Linked DNA regions of Homo sapiens: region 2 is linked to region 1. Evidence: promoter capture Hi-C in human tissues and cell types (Jung and others, 2019). All regions are on one chromosome and are shown on one strand. The core of a region is centred on a gene start or on the middle of the fragment in contact, and the rest is flanking DNA. Distances in the headings are between cores, read along the strand shown. Region 1 holds the start of ACTL10 (actin like 10). Region 2 overlaps RALY (RALY heterogeneous nuclear ribonucleoprotein).

Region 1 (4,065 bases), core at 914-3,413:
CTGCCACACTCTGGTGACCAACCTCAGGATGCCCTCTTTTGGGGGCAGATGCAGCAGGACTGAAGTCCCAGCTCACTACAGCCATCAGCCCAGCTTCTGCTGAAGATGCACTTTTGTCACCGCCACCAGGATGAACATCTCCTCCACCTTGCCTGCACCAGGCTGGAGGCTGCAAGAGCTATAACATCACTCCTGCTAATTGTGAGAACTGACTCTTCCCTACCATCCACATGGTTACAATCAGGGTAACCATGTTCTTCCATGGGGCTGCACCTCCTGCCCATACAGTGATTGGCCCAAGCTGGTCCTGTCAGCCCCTCCCCCTAGGACTGTGATTCAGGAGCTGTAAGAGACCATGTTCTCTACTTGAACATGCACAGGCTAAGCCAGCCTTCAGAATAAAAACACAATGCAGGCCAAGCGCAGTGGATCACGCCTGTAAACCCAGCACTTTGGGAGGCTGAGGCAGGCAGATCACGAGGTCAGGAGATCGAGACCATCCTGGCTAACACGGTGAAACCCCGTCTCTACTAAAAATACAAAAAACTAGCCAGGCATCATGGCGGGCGCCTGTAGTCCCAGCTACTCGGGAGACTAAGGCAGGGGAATTGAACCCAGGAGGCAGAGGTTGCAGTGAGCTGAGATCACACCACTGCACTCCAGCCTGGGCAAGAGAGCGAGACTCCATCTCAAAAAACAAACAACACAATGCAGTGCACATCCTGGGTTCCCCACAGCCCCGCAGTCAGATTCTGTTCCTGAAACCTGATTTCACCCTTGCTCTTGATATCCATAACATGTAAGATCCTTTCAATAAAGTCCTTATTTTGGGTTACATTCACCTGAGTCTTCTACCTGCAACCAAACTGGTCCTCAGGAGGATGAGGCTTTGCAGAGACAAGAAGTGACCTCTTTCCTGTGTGGGGGGATTATTACTACCTTTTGGAGGAGAAAACCGAACCCAGAGAAAGATCAAGACTTGCTTAGGACTGCACAGTGAGTCAGCTTCAGAACTGAGTCTTGCTGGGTGCGGTGGCTCACACCTGTAATCCTAGCACTTTGGGAGTCCAAGGCAGGTGGATCACCTGAGGTCAGGAGTTCGAGACCAGCCTGGCCAACGTGGCGAAACCCTGTCTCCACTAAAAATACAAAAATTAGCCGCGTATGGTGGTGCATGCCTGTAGTCCCAGCTACTCAGGAGGCTGAGGCAGGAGAATCACTTGAACTCGGAAGGCAGAGGTTGCACTGAGCTGAGATTGCAACGCTGCACGCCCAGCCTGGGTGACCGAGACTCCGTCTCAAAAATAATAATAATAAAAAAAAGAACTGAGTCTCAAACTGAGGCCCACGTGAATCCATCCGTGGAAGCCCATAAAGGTAGGGCCAGAGCCTCTCGGGGGCTCTTCAGGGAAGCTGCAGATCTGTGATGAAAAAGCTTTTTCTTCAGCACTGGGAGGGGTAGGGGGCCACACATCTGGACAGAGTACATCAGATAATTCTAAGTGGTTTGGGAAAGGAATCAGACTGTGCTGGGCTGCTGAAGCCAGACCCCTGGATGCCAAAATCACTGCCCTTGGCTCTGTCCAGAAGAGAGGATGGGTCCAGGGAGTTGTCATAAGGTAGGGAGCTGCGAAGTGCAGCTGCTGGGGAGTGAGGTCACAATGAGCCCAATCCAAGTTCTTTTCTGCCTTCTGACCAGCCCCTCCCCTCTCCACAACCAGGAACTTCCGTCAAGCCCAGGTGAGAGGTGCCAGGAGGCTGCCTGGGTCCTCAAGGGGGATATATGTCCAAATGGCCTTACCACAAGGCCCCTTCGCCCTCAAAGTTCTGCTCCTCCCGGGGGCTTCTTAGGATCTAAAAGGATCAGTCCTAGCCATCTCGTCAGCCATCTCAGCAAGGGCTGACGGGGCGGAACAGCAAAGCAGAGGCGGGTCCTGAGAGCGTGGAGCCTGAAGCCCGGCGCCAGAGGGAGACCAAGAGGGTGAGATGCGGCTGGAACCCAGCCAGAGCGGAGACTGAAGCCTGAACTAGGGGCCGGGCCTCAGGCCTAGGAACTAGCCACGAGCTGAAAAGGAGGCGGATGGCCCGGACAGAAGAGGCGGGGCTTTCAGACCAGAGGGCGGAGCCAAGAGCTGAAAAGGGTGGTGATTTGGTCCAGAAGAGGAAGAACTTAGGCTCCGGAGGCAGAGCCAAAGGCTGAAGGGGACTACTCCCTAGGACAGAGGCCGGGAGGTATCGGGCCGACGAAGCCGAGTGGCGCGGAGGAGCGGAGCCTTCAGCCCCGCGGCTGGGCCGAGCCCGAAGGTGGCGTCGGTGTCGGGGAGCCGCCGCGTGCACCGGCCGTCCTCCCTGGGCCGCATCGCGGTGGTGGTGGACCAGGGCTCGGGCTTCACCAAGGCGGGCTTCGCGGGCGAGAACCAGCCGCGCATAGTGCTGAAGAGCTCTAGCTTGGTGCCCAGCTGGGACCGGCCGGTGCTGCCCGGAGCGCCGGGCTGCGAGCTGGCGGGCGGCGTGGCGCGGGCGCACCCCATCAAGCACGGCGTGGTGGCGGACTGGGAGGCGCTGGAAGGGCTGTGGGAGCGCCTGCTGGTGGGCGGCCTGCGGGTGTGCCCAGAGCAGTGGCCCGTGCTGGTGAGCGACTCGCCGTTGGCGCCGCCCGCGGGCCGCGAAAGGGTGGCGGAGCTGCTGTTCGAGACCCTGGCAGTGCCCGCGTGCCACATGGCTAGCACCGCGTTGCTGGCGCTCTGCTCCACCGGCGCGTTCAGCGGGCTGGCCGTGGAGGCGGGCGCGGGCGTGTGCCACGCCACGCCCATCTACGCGGGTCACTCGTGGCACCAGGCCACCTTCCGACTGAACGTGGCAGGCAGCACCCTGTCGCGCTACCTGCGGGATCTGCTGGTGGCGGCGAACCCTGACCTCTTGCAGCAGGCCCTGCCCCGCAAGGCCATCACACATCTCAAGAAGCGCAGCTGCTACGTGTCCCTGGACTTCGAGGGCGACCTCCGCGACCCCGCCCGCCACCATCCGGCCAGTTTCAGCGTGGGTAACGGGTGCTGCGTCTGCCTCAGCAGTGAGCGCTTCCGCTGCCCCGAACCCATCTTCCAGCCGGGCCTGCTGGGCCAGGCTGAGCAGGGGCTGCCCGCGCTGGCCTTCCGGGCGCTGCAGAAGATGCCCAAAACGCTGCGGACACGCCTGGCAGACACCGTGGTGCTAGCCGGCGGCTCCACACTGTTTCCTGGCTTCGCCGAGCGCCTGGACAAGGAGCTGGAGGCGCAGTGCCGGCGGCACGGCTACGCGGCCCTGCGGCCCCACCTGGTGGCCAAGCATGGGCGTGGCATGGCTGTGTGGACCGGCGGCTCCATGGTGGCCTCCCTGCACTCCTTCCAGCGCCGCTGGATAACTCGGGCCATGTACCAGGAGTGTGGCTCCAGGCTGCTGTACGATGTGTTCAACTGAGTCAGGCTGGACTGGGGGGGGTGGCACTGCGTTGGGGGACAGCTCTCTATCTAAAGAGTCAAGTGTTTGGAGCTGGCAGGGTCCTCCTGGAGGTTGGAGCTGACTGGATGGGTCACCCCCATACCCTTTCTGGGCCAGGAGAAGGTATTTGGGACCCATGGGACCCTCATTTTGAACTGCAGTTTGAATCTCCCCAACCACTGCCAGTTCAGAGAATGCCAGTCCAGCTGCCTACCCACAGGGCCCTACTTTATGGCAATAAAGGTGATGCCCCACTTGTGTCCATGCCACAGATATGGGAGTTCCTCCAAACCCTCGTCATGTACCATTTGGACATACATCCGATGCCAGGCCCCAAGGGGCGATCCCTTGAAAAGCTACTAAATCTCATGTGAAAGTCACCAGGAGGAGGAGCCCTGTGCCTAGCCATGTGCTCAGGTCATTGTTGACTATGAGTGCCTCAGTTTCCCCTTCTGTAAAAAGTGGGGTCAGGCACAATCCCGGGCCTGCTCACTGCTCCCTCCCCCTTACAAGAGCTATGGAGCAAAGGGAGGTGGAGATATTTCTTGAACACACAAAGGGAAGGGCAGCTTATTTTTTGGAAGTCAC
Region 2 (4,065 bases), core at 784-3,283, 330 kb after region 1:
ATATTAAAGTTCAAACAAATATGACCCATGAGGTCAGTGTGTTGAATTTATTGAATAGAATCTTGTAGTTGAGGGACCTTACAGTCATTTAGACCAGCCACCTGGCTGACATTTGAGTTGGTTACTTGTTGAGATTGTCTTTCTTTGGATACCTCATTTTTGGAAAGTTTTTCATTCACTGAAGAATTAATGAGCCTCTGTTAGACCTGGTGCTACGCTTAGGGATTTGGGTTTGTATAGCGTAGTGGGAAAGATAGGCAAGGAAACAGGCAGTGTGAGAAGTGTTGTCACAGGGACAGACACCAGGAGAGCACAGAAAAATGATGCCTAACCCAGCATTGGAAGGTCAGGGAAGGCTTTTTAGGAGGAGAAGTTGGTTAAGCCTAGCCCTCAAGAGAACAGACATAAGCCAGGAAAAGAAGAGATCTGGGGAGTCAGGGAAGAGGCAGAGATAAGACTGTTCTAGGTAGAAGGAACAGTAAGTTCAGAAATGGTGATAATAGGTTAAGACCATCCCGAAAGTACGTACTGTTACTATTCCCATTCTGTAGTTGAAGGAAACGGGCCAAGAGAGCTAAACAAATTTCTCAGGATTCTTGGGTGGAGCATAATGCTTGAGGTGGGTGGATATGGCCAGACAGGAGACTTTCAAGGTAGGCAGAGCAGAGGCCAAGTCAGGAAAGGGCCTTCTTGCCTGTGTTGAGGAGTTTGGACTTCATCCGGAGGTGAGGGGGCCATGATTCAATGTGCATTTTGGAAGGATATCTCTGGCTGCCTGTTCAGGAGCGGACTGGAGAGCTAGAACACTGTGGGCAGAGAGACCAGTTAGGAGGTTGGCAAGAGGTGATGGTGTTTCAAATGAAGGTTGTGGGAGAGCGTGTGCAAGAGTGTGTGCAGAAAAAAGATGGAATTGCTGGGCGTGGTGGCTCACGTTTGTAGTCCTAGCACTTTGGGAGGCTGAGGTGGGTGGATCACCTGAGGTCAGGAGTTTGAGACTAGCCTGGCCAACGTGGTGAAACCCCGTCTCTACTAAAAATAAAAAAAAAATTAGTCGGGTGTGGTGGCAGGCACCTGTAATCCCAGCTATGTGGGAGGCTAAGGCAGGAGAATCACTTGAACCTGGGAGGTGGAGGTTGCAGTGAGCTGAGATCGAACCACTGCACTCCAGCCTGGGTGTGAGACTCCATCTCAAAAAAAAAAAAAAAAAAGGAAAGAAAAAAGGTGGAATTGAGTGATGAGACAAAGATTATTGGTGTGGAGGGTAAGGAAGGAATCGGGATGACATCTGGTTTCTACCTGGTGCAGTTTTGTAAATGGGTGCTGTTTATTGAGGTGAGGACACAGGAGAAGAAGGAGCACGTAAGGGAGGGGGTAGGGTTTCTTATGCAGGGTCTCCTTACATATGCTTTCACTTACCTCTGGTTATGGATTCTAGTTCTTTGTGTCAGGTCTGAAAGGGAGAGAGTGAGAGTATGGCACAACTGGTCATGTTCCTGGCTAAACTGGATGATGCAAACATTAGTTTAGGAAGAGAGGAGATATTCAATCCTAGACATCCGGGTGTGGCACAGCCTGGAAACTGCTTACGTTAAGCCAAGAAAAGTTTACATTTTATCCAGGCTACATCCTTTGGCACTGGTCTTTTCGTGTACTAGTGTATTCCTAAGTCCCTCTCTAAGCCGAAGCCACTTCTCTGCTTACTCTCTGCTAGGCACTGGGAAAACAAAGATAAGTAAAACGTATCCTAAGGAGCTCATGATCCAGAAGGGCAGAAGTCTCAGTAGCTTGGATACAGCGGTGGCCTGGGGAGAGGGTGGATGGGGCAGGGCAGGGTAGGACAGGATGGAGAGGGACCCGGAAGGGTTTCTATTAGGGATAGGAGTCAGGAGACCCCACTGTGTGCTCCAGTCTTTTTCTCGGGTGGCACGTGTCTAGGTTTATTCATCTGAATAATGACTAGATGACCCATAAGGTCCCTTCTAGCAATTACATTTTATGATTCTAGGTGGTGGTTTAGATAATATATCTCTAGGAGAGGTATTTCTTTCTTCTTCTCCCCCTTCTTAGTTTGGCATTGGTGAGGGGATATAGTAGGGGTGGAGATAGCAAGGTTTTCACTTGAGTGTCTTGGTCTTATTCAATTTTGGCTTCATGTCTATATAGCTGGAAGGGAGAAAATGACAGCCGTAATGTTAACCTGCTTGTCCTACAACTTCCCCCTGGGTACTGTAAGGAAATTGTGCTCAGGGTGCAGCTCACAGACCCTTAGGAATAGAGACAGAGTGCAGTGGAATAAATAGGAAGTCTTGTCACTAGCCTGAGCATCGTTTGGTCAGTGTGTGGGCTGGACTAAGGTCCTTTCTTTTTATAGCCCTGTTTCCTCATAAAATCATCTGGGGGGGTCCCTGAAATTCTATAAAGGCCCAAAGAGTGGGGGTGGGGAGGTAGGGACAGAAAAAGGGTTGGAGGTCCCTGTCTCTCTCACTTCTCCCCTCTCTTCGAACGAATAAGTAGAAGCAGGTATCTGGCCAAGTATTAATGTTGGTCATCTTTTGTTTCCACAGCCTTGCCTTATTTCCTCAGTGTTAGTGTCTTCTGTCATTTCATAATGGCTTTCATGGTAATCAATGTCCTGTACCTCCTGGGAGGAAGGAAGGAAAGATGGGATATTGTCCCTGGGCTCTAGTCTCCATCTCCAGAAGAGCCATTTAAGACATCCACTGCCCCCTGTTCTCTATTCTGGGGTTGGGGTAGGGGGTTGTGGCTGAATACTTGGGTTTCTTAGAGGGTACATACTTGAGTTTCCTAGGGAGTGCTCTACTAACTAAAGTGCAAATCTGGCTATCTTCCCAACACACCAATGAGTTTGACTGGGGAAAATAGCAGTCAGTGGGCTTTTGTTGCTTGCCAAACCCATGTTAATTGTAATTATCTAATATTCTGTGGGATCTCTGTCTTCCTGTCTGTGAAACAAGGGAATTGGACTAGATAATCTTGAGTGATATTTCTACCTTTTTACAGTTTTGTGGAAGTGGCTTGAGAATTTATCTCTGGAAGGAGAAAGGGCTTTGCTAAAGTATTGAGAGTATCTCAGAGGGTTAAATTCTGGGTTCACAAAAGATACCTTTCAGTATATAAACAGATGGATATTGCTTTTTAGAGTGGACAGATTGCTGAAAAATTGCTTGTGAGATGAATTTATCAAATTGTATGCTGAGTTCCATTATAAACTTGGAGCTGTAGCCTCATGGGACAAACTTGGAGTCCAAGACTATAAAAAAATTACATTAAAATATGTAGCAAACTGTTTAAAATCACATAATAAAGGAAAAATAAAAAACATTTTAAGATTTTCACACAATGGTAATAATGGAAAAACACTAGACCAGAAACTTGCATTTCCTAAGAGCTTTAGCTTATGGAGTAGATGCCTCTACTGAGGTTACCTGGCCCTTGAAGTGCCATCTGTAGAGACTGAATAGCTCTGTTATTTGTCAAGGTAAGACTCATTGCTTTATTCCAAGTAAATATTCTCTTTTAGAATGCCAGGTTTGGAAGCTTAATGTTATTGGCCAGATTTTCTTCATTCCAGAGGCATTTATCTGGTATTTAGCTGTCTCCTGTTTATTTTATTAAGGATTTTAATAAGCTTAGTTAACGGTACTGCTTACATGGTGTCTCTTGATCTATTTGTCTAGTTTCCTTTGAAATTCTTTGTGTTAGTGAAAGCAAGCCCAGCAGTAGATTTAAAAGGGTCATTTCCATAACTTCATTTATCTAGATTTGGGTTTTTTTGGTAAGAGATATGACCACACTATACTGAGAAATCGAATGTTGTTTCCTTTTTTTTTGAGACGGAGTCTCGCTCTGTTGCTCAGGCTGGAGTGCAGTGGCATGATCTCCGCTCACTGCAAGCTCTGCCTCCCGGGTTCATGCCATTCTCCTGCCTCAGCCTCCTGAGTAGCTGGGACTGCAGGTGCCCACCACCACGCCCGGCTAATTTTTTTGTATTTTTAGTAGAGACGGGGTTTCACAGTGTTCGCCAGGATGGTCTCGATCTCCTGA

Evidence for each region. The method cuts DNA at HindIII sites, captures the fragments that hold promoters and counts their contacts. A contact is called where the count stands out against the background at its distance.
Region 2: a fragment that was not itself captured here is called in contact with the fragment with the promoter of ACTL10 in region 1 in 2 of the 25 tissues and cell types used here (bladder and thymus).

What each region holds. Positions count from the first base shown.
Region 1 is chr20:33,664,780-33,668,844 of GRCh38, forward strand. It overlaps ACTL10 (actin like 10), which reads left to right and starts at 2,164. Exons shown (of 1, transcript NM_001024675.2): 1 at 2,164-3,746. The coding sequence starts at 2,719. The coding sequence ends at 3,456. The region is part of intron 5 of NECAB3 (N-terminal EF-hand calcium binding protein 3); the gene reads right to left. RefSeq lists enhancers at 1-6, 1,857-2,076, 2,887-2,966 and a silencer at 2,207-2,536. The HindIII fragment of the contact is 10,203 bases long and covers 621-4,065 here.
Region 2 is chr20:33,997,934-34,001,998 of GRCh38, forward strand. The region is part of intron 1 of RALY (RALY heterogeneous nuclear ribonucleoprotein); the gene reads left to right. Among named protein-coding and RNA genes, the nearest start is that of RALY-AS1, 5.6 kb to the left of the region's middle. RefSeq lists an enhancer at 858-1,358. The HindIII fragment of the contact is 3,140 bases long and covers 464-3,603 here.